2 separate regions of the Homo sapiens genome follow, and region 1 is linked to region 2. The links are contacts of gene promoters, found by promoter capture Hi-C in human tissues and cell types (Jung and others, 2019). All regions are on one chromosome and are shown on one strand. Each heading gives the region's core, a stretch centred on a gene start or on the middle of the fragment in contact. The rest is flanking DNA. Distances are from core to core; before and after follow the strand shown.

Evidence for each region. Contacts are between HindIII fragments. The study calls those that stand out against the background at their distance.
Region 1: a contact is called between a fragment that was not itself captured here and the fragment with the promoter of MXD4 in region 2, in 3 of the 25 tissues and cell types used here (dorsolateral prefrontal cortex, lymphoblastoid cells and spleen).

Annotation. Positions count from the first base shown.
Region 1 is chr4:2,483,902-2,489,180 of GRCh38, forward strand. All of the region lies in intron 1 of RNF4 (ring finger protein 4), which reads left to right. Among named protein-coding and RNA genes, the nearest start is that of RNF4, 17 kb to the left of the region's middle. RefSeq lists enhancers at 1,384-1,663, 2,167-2,668, 4,172-4,281. The HindIII fragment of the contact is 4,796 bases long and covers 1-4,300 here.
Region 2 is chr4:2,259,678-2,264,946 of GRCh38, forward strand. MXD4 (MAX dimerization protein 4) reads right to left here and starts at 2,432. Exons shown (of 6, transcript NM_006454.3): 1 at 2,240-2,432; 2 at 2,048-2,147. The coding sequence starts at 2,303. RefSeq lists enhancers at 959-1,551, 2,783-3,444, 3,445-4,104 and silencers at 1,652-1,711, 1,722-2,111, 2,202-2,261, 2,312-3,151. The HindIII fragment of the contact is 28,165 bases long and covers 1-5,269 here.

The DNA of each region.
Region 1 (5,279 bases), core at 653-3,152, 220 kb after region 2:
GGCTCACCTCCACCTCTTGGGTTCGAGCGATTCTCCTGCCTCAGGTTCCCGAGTAGCTGGGATTACAGGCGCCCACCACCACACCCAGCTAATTGTTGTATTTTTAGTAGGGGGTGGGTTTCACCATATTGTTCAGGCTGGTCTCGAACTCCTGGCCTCAGGTGATCCCCCCCCGCCTCGGCCTCCCAAAGTGCTGGGATTACAGGTGTGAGCCACCATGCCTGACCCAGGTCTCTTATTTTCAGTGGGTAATTGTATCAGACTCTGCCTCCCAGGTGGGGTTTGAGGGTTCTGTGTACCTGGTGTAGGCCTAGGCTAAACAGAAGAGCTTCTCGTTAGAGCATCTCCCTGTGGACTGGCTGCAGAGTTACGATATCATTCTGGTTCTGCTGTGCTCCCCACTGCCCCTTTTCAGCTGACTCTTTGCTCATAGGAATACAGTGGTATGAGATAGGGTCATAGAATTTGGTTCCAGTCTAACACTCTTCCTGTTTCCTGCCCGCCTGTATGTCTCTATCCATTAGCAGACTCCTTTATGTATGATAGAGACACATGCACATATGCATACACGGACAGTCCCTGACTTACAGTGTTTCATTTAGAATTTTTCAACTTATGATTTATTGGGAGTTAGCCCCATTGTACGTCAAGGAGCATCTGCACATCGTATACATATATACCATGAATACACATAATTATATGTCACACTCCTGCTAGAGTGGGGGGGGTCAATATCTGAAGTGCTTATAATAGCTTTATTGGGGGGGACCTCTAAGAAAAACAGAATAATTACTTAGACCTTAAATAATAAATCTATAAGAATGAAGAAAGCCCCAAAGCCCTTCCAGCTTCCATCCCGTCAGTCACCTCTCTGTCCTATACTCTGCCACTACCCCGAGCCTCATGGCTTTCTTCTCACCTGGGCTACCCTGAGTCTCCTCCTTGGTCTACAGTCTGACTTGTTCAGTCTCCCATCTGTTCTCACCAGACACAGGTGACATGGTCTCTAAATGCAGATCTCAACATGTCATCTCTGTCCCAAAACCCTCGATGGCCCTGTCCTGAGGGTGTAGTCAGTGAGGCTTGTTAGGAACCCTCGGCACCTTTGTTGTCCTCCACACAGTGCTCGTGTGGGACATCCCTGCTCCCTTCCGCCCACCCCACCCACATACATTGTTTCTTAATTAACTCCTCCTGTCACTTGAGGCCCCATTCAGCACTGCTTCCTCTAGACAGCCCGGCTTGATCCTCAGCGCGTTTGGGCTGGGACTGCGACTCCTTTGCTGCTGCTTCCACTTGCTTAGGTCACCAGCGTCCCACTTCCGTGTTTGAGCTCACTGGCCGCCTTTCAGTTCCCCAGCCTGTGCATTGCAGCTGTTCACTGCTTCCTCCTCCTTGAAGAAGGAGGTTTTGTCTGAGTGACGGCTCCAGGTTCTCCTAGCTTTGTTTCTTTTAAATTCTCTTTTACAGATTCTATCTACCTGCCTCCCCAAGTTTTCACACATTCTGAAATCTCTACGTCCATCCGAGTTCTCACTCTTGAGTTTCCAGCTACCTTGGGCCCTTTCTCCCTGGGTGTCTCACACCCTGCTTTTCTAAAACTACACTCAGCACCTGTTTCTGTTCTCCCTTCCCTCATTGGGTTTTATGGCCTCATTCTTGCAGAGTAAGAAGCTAGATACCTTGGCGTGAGTTGTTTCTCCTTTCACCTTGGAAGCTTTAGGAATACCTAGCATCCGGCTCTCCTGACCATCCCCAGTTAGGAATGACCACTTCTCTACCCCAGCTCCTCTTTTCTCAGTGGCAGGGGCGCCATCAACACCCCACTCTTACCCTCATTTATTCCTTCAATAAATATGAGCATCTGCTTTGTGTAAGGTCTTAGCTAGGTAGAAAGTAAATAGAGCCTTGTCCTCGTAGCGCTTACCTAAGTGAGAGCATACTGGACGAGAGACTGGAGGATGGTGGGGCCCTTTCTTGAAATGGAGTATATGTTGGCGGAAGGAGGAGGCAAGGGTTCCTTTTGGAACACACTAAATTTGAGAAATCTGAAAAATCACCGTCAGTGTTCCCGCTAGTTTCTGGAATTGATGTATTTGATTCTGGCACTAACATACCTATTTGAGGGTGTGGGTCTTGGTATCAGACTGCCCTGGTTTAAGTCTAGGCTCTGTTTACTAGGTGTGGATGACTTTGGGGAAGTTCCTTAACTTTAATCCTTAGCTGCTTCATGGGTAAAATGGGGAACATAACAGTGCTTATTTCCTTACTGGGTGATGTGAGGAGCACATGTGGTGATATTAATATTTAGGAAGCGCAGTGCCTTGTGCAGATGCAGAGAAGGCACCTCTCAGCTGTTGTTAGTTTTCTTATTCCATTGGACTCTCACCTGCATGATCCAGAACCCTTTGTAGTTGGTGAGGGCTACTTTCCCATGACCGCTAAGGTCTCCATTCACTCTGCATTTCTACGTCCCCACCACGCTGGGATGCTCTGCTGGAAATGCTCCTGTCTCACCTCAGTGCCCTGGTGAAATCCAGCCTCTTGGTGGCTTATCCCCAAGACCAGCCTTCCAAATTCCTTTGAACTCTGACTCCTGACCCTTACTAAACCCAAAAGAGAGAGAAAAACCAGATTTGGGGTGAATTGCTGTATGGGCCAGGGCATGGAGAATGAGGGGGCTCCAGAAAGCTTCCCAGGGAAGTAGTAATGGTCTAGCTGGGCCTGCAGGGATGCAGGAGGCTGGTTTCAGAGTGGTGAGGGGTGTGCAGGCCAGGACAGCCACAAGGCACATCTTCAGCAGCCGTATTTGGAAGCCTCAATATCAGTGAAGTGGGAGGAGAGAGGCTTAGGAACAGCCTGGGTGTGGACATCAGGTGTTTCCCTTTGCTCTGCAGGCTGATTTCTCTGTCTTCCTTTGTCAGTAGCTTCTCTTTTCTAAATTCTAAGACACGCTATTGATGTGGCGGGGAGAACAAGCCCCTATATGATAGATGTGCACCCAAATGTAAGATATTTCTTGAGATCAGAAACATTCGTGGATATGAGAACCCAGGACATGTGGTGGATCTGGGACTGTCGTGTGGTCTGAATGATCTTGTGAGTCCTAAGGTGATGTCGAGGCACCTCCCACCTCTGTTGAAACCAACTAGACAAGTCTTTTCCTAGCCAGAGCCTCTTCCCTGAATGTCTGTTTAAAGTTGAACACTTACCAGGTGAGGTGTTGCTTTGAGAAGCATTTGTGCTCCGGGCTGGAGTGCAATGGTGCAGTCATGGCTCACTGCAGTCTTGACCTCCTGGGCTCAGGTGATCCTCCTGTCTCAGCCCCTGGAGTAGCTGGGACTACAAGTGTGCACCGTCACATCTGGCTATTTTTTTAATGTGTTTTTATTTTTATTTTTTGAGACAGAGTCTCTCTCTGTTGGCCAGGCTGGAGTGCAGTGGTGCCATCTTGGCTCATTGCAACCTCCGCCTCCCGGGTTCAAGTGATTCTTGTGCCTTAGCCTCCTACGTAGCTGGGATTATAGGCGCACACCACCACACCCGGCTAATTTTTATATTTTTAGTAGAGACGGGGTTTCGCCATGTTGGCCAAGCTGGTCTTGAACTCCTGATCTCAAGTGATCTGCCTGCCTCAGCCTCCCAGAGTGCTGGGATTACAGGCATGAGCCACTGCCCAGCCTCATTATTTTAATTTTTTTATAGAGACAGGATCTCACCATGTTAACCAAGCTAGTTTCCAATTCCTGGGCTCAAGAGATCCTCCCTCTTCAACTTCCCAAAGTGCTGGGGTTATAGGGCATGAGCCACTGTGCCTGCCCCATTTGTGCATTCTGTTGAGAGCACCCGTAGTCCCATAGTATGGGCCAGCCTAAGGAGATGCAAGTCACCCTTTATTAGAGTGAAACAGTGAAGGGGATTTCCCCTCTAAACCATTGAGGTCAAGCTAGAGAATGAGGCGCTCAGGGAGTGAGATACAGTATGCCATTTTCTCAGAACCAGACGACCAAGTGCTGAAGAAAATGCTCAGCTCAGCTGGGACGGCGGTCCCTTTGGGCATCTCCTGAAAAACCTACTCTGGCCTCCCTTTCTCCTCCTGTACTTCTTGCACACTTAGTTCCTAACTTCGTTATAGCTGCCTGCCAGCACCCTCCTCACCCTTCTCCCCGCCCTAGATTCTGCACAGAGGCTGTGTTTGCTCATTGCTGTATTCCCAGGGCAGGGGCTGTACTGTGAATGAGGCGGGGAGGTATGCATCCTTTCTTAAAGCTGGGTGGGAGGACAGACGTGGTGGCTCATGCCTGTAATCCCAGCACTTTGGGAAGCCGAGGCAAGTGGATCACCTGAGGTCAGAAGTTCGAGACCAGCCTGGCCAACCTGGTGGAAACCCCATCTCTACTAAAAGTAGAAAAATTAGCCTGGTGTGGTGGCACATGCCTGTAGTCCCAGCTACTGGGAGGCTGAGGCAGGAGAATCACTTGAACCTGGGAGGTGGAGGTTGCAGTGAGCCCACTGCACTCCAGTCTGGGCAACAGAGTGAGACTCCGTCTCAAAAACAACAACAACAACAACAAAAAAAAACTGAGTGGGATGTGATATCACACAGCATTTTAGGGCTTGAGCAGAAGGTTGGAGCTGGTCACTGGGAAGGTTTATTTGGAGAGACTGCCAACCTGGTGCTGTGGGGCTGAGTGTGGTGATGGGTATGTGTCAGCCCACAGACACTGAGCCTTTCCAGTGTGCCTGCACTGTTCCAAACACTCTCTTGTAATAACTTCTGGAATCCTCACACACCATTAAGGTAGGTGCAGTTCTGTTCTATAGATAAGGAAATGGGGCACAGAGAAGTTCAATGCCATGCCCCAAGGTCACAGGTTGGGGTTTGCAGGTGCCTGGATTTTATTTTCATTTTTTATTTATTTATTTATTTTTTTGAGATGGAGTTTTGCTCTCGTTGTCCAGGGTGGAGTGTAATGGCATGATCTCGGCTCCTCTGCCTCCCAGGTTCAAGAGATTCTCCTGCCTCAGCCTCCCAAGTAGCTGGAATTACAGGCATCCACCACCACTCCAGGCTAATTTTTTGTATTTTCTAGTAGAGACGGGGTTTCACCATATTGGCCAGGCTAGTCTCAAACTCCTGACCTCAGGTGATCCACCCGCCTTGGCCTCCCAGAGTGCTGGGATTACAGGTGTGAGCTACTACACCCGGCCGATGCCTGGATTTCAATCTCAGTTGCCTGGCTCAAGAGATGTGCCCTAATTGCAGTGCCAGCCTGGCT
Region 2 (5,269 bases), core at 1,182-3,681:
GCTCCTCCTGGGCCCAGAGACCCTTGGGGTCCATCGAGGGGGATGTTTGCAACATGGGTCCCAGGAGCACTCTATCCCTCAGGAGAGGTGGGACCTGTCCCCGCTGAGGCCAGGCCAAGTGCGTTCCCAGCATTCCCGTGACCCCAGGAGACAAGCACACTTCCCACAGAATGGACCCCCCTGCAGGCTGGCCCCAGTGCTCTGCCGCCTCCCTCAACCCTGACACTGTCCTCCGGCCCCACTCCCTACCCTTGCCCCAGCCTCACTGTGCCATGTCCCCTCCCTCACCTTGGCAGAGCATGGAAGCCTCACAGGTGGGGACAAGTCAGGGGCTCAGAGATCCTCTGGCCCCCTGCTCCGCCCAGCTACTTGTCTGGGCTGGCTGAGGAAACCTCCAGGGCAGTGCTGCCCACCCGAGGAAGGGGCCAAGCCGCCAGCCCTGGGCTGCCTCAGGCCCCGGGGGAGCGGGGCTCGGCCCAGAGGAGCCAGGGGAGATGCACCAGAGTTGGGGAGCCCTCTGTCTCCCTCACCAGTGCCCCCATGGTCTCTGTCCCAGCAGAATGTGGACAGCTGGGACCCCATCTCAGGAACAGGCGTCATCAGAGATGGGTGAGTGGCAGGCAAGTAACCAAACCTCTCCTTGCCTCAGTTTCCTTGGCCATAGAGATAAAAATCACATCACCTCTCTGAGCCTGGGGTGAAGATGAACTGGCTGCATGTGTGAAACGCTCAGCATAGAGGCAGTGTTCGGGCAGCCTTGGCCAGGACGCTGGTTGTCAGCTTTGGATTCTCCATGCTGGGGGAGCCCCAGCTCACGCCCCAGAGTTCTCCACGGGTCAGGGACTTGGTTTGGAGAGAAGCGGCAGCGGGGGCCGGGCTTGCTCACTGAGGAGGCCTGAGGCAATGGTTCCCTCGTCACACTCCTGTCCTTCCCCAAACTGTCCCCAGTAGGGGACCAGGGGCTGGGACTCAGGGACGGGTCCCAGCCAGGGCAGCTGGAGACTCAACCAATTCCTCGCCTGGCTCAGGATGCCACAGAAATGGGTCCCTACACCAGCCTTTCGGATTCCCTAGAACAGGTGGACCACAGGAATGAGCCATGCCCTGGGGCTCTGAAGCCCCCTACAAACGCAGCTCCCAGCCTGCTCACACAAAAGGGCTGGGCCAAGGTGGGCCCAGACAGGACCAGGTGTGCTATGGTCCTCACAGCAGCCAGGAGGGTGGAAATCCCCGGGGAGCCCCGGCCCAGGGTCCCCACTCCCCACGCGGGGGACCTGTACGCACCCCAGCTTCAGGGCTTCTGCTGCCTGAACACGAGGTCAAGGTATGGAGGGCGCAGCTGGCACCCGTAGTAACGACTTCATGGGGCCCCTGCCCTGCAGCCTGCCCCCTCCTCCCGCCCCCTTAAAAGGCCTCTGTCTTAAAAAAGAGGACCCCCATACTGGTGGCTGGAGTTTCGCTGTGTCAGGAGGCTGGGCAGAAGCGGTGGGCACCCTGGGAGGAGTGAGGGCCCAGGACAGCGCCTCCACTCGCTTCTCTGTCTAGGCTCCTGGGGGCGGGGGAAGGTGGCCGAGCAGCAGAGTTCGGCTGGCAGAGCCAGTCGAAAGGAGGCCGCCCACCCACCCGCGGAGAGAAGGGGTTAGGGCCGGCAGCCCCCGCAGACCCTGGCTGAGCCTGTTTCCCCAGACCCACGGGGCACCGGCCAGCGCCCGCTGACAACTTTTCTACCGCCTGGAAAAGTCCAGAACAACTCGGGGGCGGGGAGCGGGCGCGGGAGCGGACCCCGGCGGCGGGCGCTGTACGCGTGGCACTGTTTACGCGAGCGGCCCGGGAGGCGCGGCCGCGGGAAGATGGCGACGGCGAGGGCGGGGCCGGCCGGGCGGGGCTGCGGCCGCGGCCTGCGCGCCTCCTCCTCCAGGCTGGCCGCCGGGGCGCGCGGCGGCGGCGCTGAGGGCCGCGGGCCGGGAATCGGGGCCCGGAGAGCACGCTCCGGGCGGGGGCGGGGGTTCGGACCGGGCCGGGCGGGGTCGGGAGCGGGGGGCGGTACCTGTTGTTCGGGGCCTTGCGCACCAGGCCGGCCGCCTTTGTTTTCTCCCTGGCGAAGTCGCCGTCGAAGGGCAGCACCGAGGCGTAGCCGTGCTCGGCCTCTGCGGACACACGGCGCGGTCAGCGGCCCCCGCCCGGCACGGCCCCGCCGCCCGCCCACCGCCGCGGGCGCACAATGGGGTGCGAGCGCTACCTCGATCCCTGCGCTCCAGGTACTCGGCCGCCTCCAGCAGGATCAGCAGGGAGTTCAGCTCCATCCTCCCGCCCGCGCCCGTCCGCCCCGGGACGGCGGCGGCCGCTGCCCGGCCCGCTCCGGCCGGCTCCGCTCGCCGCCCACCCCGCGCGCCCGGCCGCCGCACTTCCAGACTCCGCGGACTCCGGCGCTCGGCCGCCACCCTCCGCCTCAGGCCCTCAAATTGACACATAAGGGAGAGCGGCGGCCCGCAGAGCCAATGGGAGGCGGCGTTCGCGCCCCGGGGGCGGGCGCCGGGCCGGGCTGGGGCCAATGGGGACGGGTCGAGCGCCTCGGGCCGGGCCGAGAATGTTGACAGATGCAGAGCTGGGCTGGGATAGGCCGGCCGCGCTAGTAACAATTTAGAAGCCCGAGCTTAGCAACAGCACGTGGTGGCCCGGCCCCCGCGCTAGCTGACTGGCGGCCGCCGTGCATGTTAAGTAGGCGCCGCGCGCCGATTGGCCAGAGCGGCCTATGTAAAACAGGCACTGCGAGCCAATGGCCGGTGGCGGGGCGCGCGGCCAATGAGGGCGCCGCAGCCGGACGCGTTGCCGAGAGGAAGCGCAGCGCGCGGGGACCGCCCGCCGTCCTGGGGGCCCGTTAGGACGCAGGAGCGTCTCCGCTACGAGAGCGAAGCAGGGCGCTCCGGGGCGTGCGCCGGGCCGGGCCGGGCCGCCGGGTCTGAGCGCGACGAAAGCAGTGGCTGCGTGGGGGGACGAGGCCTCGCGCTCTGCCCGGGGGTCTTGCGTGGGGCCGTGAACGACTCCCCTCCCCGCCGGGCGCAGAGTGGCCCCGGGAAGGGCCGGGACCTCGGAGAGGGACGCAGACGCTCTGATCCTAAGAGCCAGGCGTCTCTGAGGGTGTCAGTGGGGAAACAGGCCCAGAGCGGGCGGGCTCCTCAGATCGCCCAGTGGACGCCGGAGCTGAGGGAGGGCCCAGGTCTGGGGAAGGGACACAGACGTGCGGCCAGAGTCGAGAGGCTCCCCGGAGTGGGGGGCTGCATGCTCTGTGTCTGGCCTGAGGGGCAGGGACGTTCCTAGAGGCAGGCGCTGGCCACCTCTGGCCGAGGACGCCCTAAGTGGGGACGGGAGTGAACCCTTCATCAAATCCCAGCTGGCGGGTCTCCCTAGTGACCCCTGACCCTAAGGCTGGCCCAGACTGGCCTCGGCACCCCCCACCCTCTCGCAGATTTTTTTTTTTTTTTTTTTTGAGACGGCTCTGTTGCCCAGGCTGGAATGCAGTGGCGTGATGTCAGTTCACTGCAACCTCCGCCTCCCGGGTTCAAGCGATTCCCCTGCCTCAGCCTCCCAAGTAGCTGGGACTACAGGCGCGTGCCACCACGCCCAGCTAATTTTTGTATTTTTAGTAGAGATGGGGTTTCACCATGGATGGTCTGGATCTCCTGACCTCGTGATCCGCCCGCCTCGGCCTCCCAAAGTTCTGGGATTACAGGTGTGAGCCACCTCGCCCGACCCATCTCACTGATTTGATTTTTGAGGTTGGTGGCCTGGATGTGCCAAGGGCCAGGCCCCGCAGGCTGGAGAGTGTGGAGGCATAAGGTGGCTGGACCCCTCCAGAAGTACTCAGTGGGACACAGGGGCTGCTGCTGGCAATGAAACTGAACAAAAAATGCAAAACCTCAGCACCAGGACTCCTGTGAAAGCTTCGTGTGCATCTCCCTGTGTTTTGCATGCCCGGCTTGCAGATCAGGACATGGGACTAGACGCTCAGGGATTTGCTGGGGTCTCCCAGAAATCTCAGCAGAATGGAGATTAGTGCTGCCACACACGGCTCAGGGCTATAGGAATGCAGAGGCCAGAGCCTCCTGGCCTGGCTGGTCCTGCTGGGTGTAAGCCTGTGGTGTGGGCTTCAGAATAATGTGTGTTCCCACAGAGCCCTGCAGGACCCAGTGGGGAACTCGGACACTGCTATGAGACAGCCCTGCATGGACATTGAGACAACCCCCTTGATGTTAGCAGGGGCCCTTCCTGTTCCCGCCCCACAGTGACGCCAGGGCCCAAGGCAGAGCCCCTCACAAGAACTCAGCACTGAGGCCCTCCAGGTTTGTCTGCATGGCTGCTCAGAGCTGTGCATGGTAAAGAAAGGTGCCCAAGTCTGGGGAGGAGCAGGGTGTGTTTGGGCTCTGGGGACCCAGCTCTCCACTTGGGGATGAGCATTTTGCAAAGTTGCCCCATCCCTGCTTTGGCCACTGGGTGAGTTGCTGCCGACAGCTAAAGCGGACACCTGGCCTAGTACAAGTGCACCTGCTGGGCATAGTGCACGCCCCCTTCCTGCCATGGGCCAAGAGATTTGTTCTGTGTGGCAGTGGGCAGCACAGGTGCGCAGGTGTGTCTATGGGGAGGCACCTGCATGCTACCCCAGTCTAAGAGATTTTTAGCCTCAATTTAGGCCATTTAAGGACTCACCCTCACCTCCCCACCACACTGAGGACCAAGCACTTCCCTGGTGTCCCTGGGCTCAAACCTTGCCTGGTAGTGTGGGCACCACTGCCTGGGGGAGCAGGAAGGAGTTGGGGTTGGGAGGAGAAGCTGCAGGAGGCGATGGATGACTGAGGGCTGAGCTGCAGCTAGGGAGGGAGGTACTGGAGGCATCGGCCAGCAATGGCAGGAGGAGAGGGAAGGGGAGGGAGCAGCCAGGAGAGGCCTGGAGGTGATGTTGGCCTGGCCCAGATGGCTGCAGGTGGGCCTGGAGCCCTGCCAGGAGAGGTCTGGAGCCCCTGGGGGATAGGGGCACTGGTCCCACCTGCAGTTGGCAGGGTCTCTACACCCACGGGTCTCAACTTGTCCTTCCCAAGATGGGCAGAGGCATCTTGGGTCAGTGCCGGCAGGCACCAGTGCCCATGGAGTCTCAGGGGTGGTTGAGGAGTGGGGAGGACGTGGCTCAGGTCAGCCAGTTGGACCCAAGCCCTGCAGGGCATGGGCCATGTCCCCTTCTGTAGGGCAGGTCCCCCGCAGGGTGTGGCATCTCCAG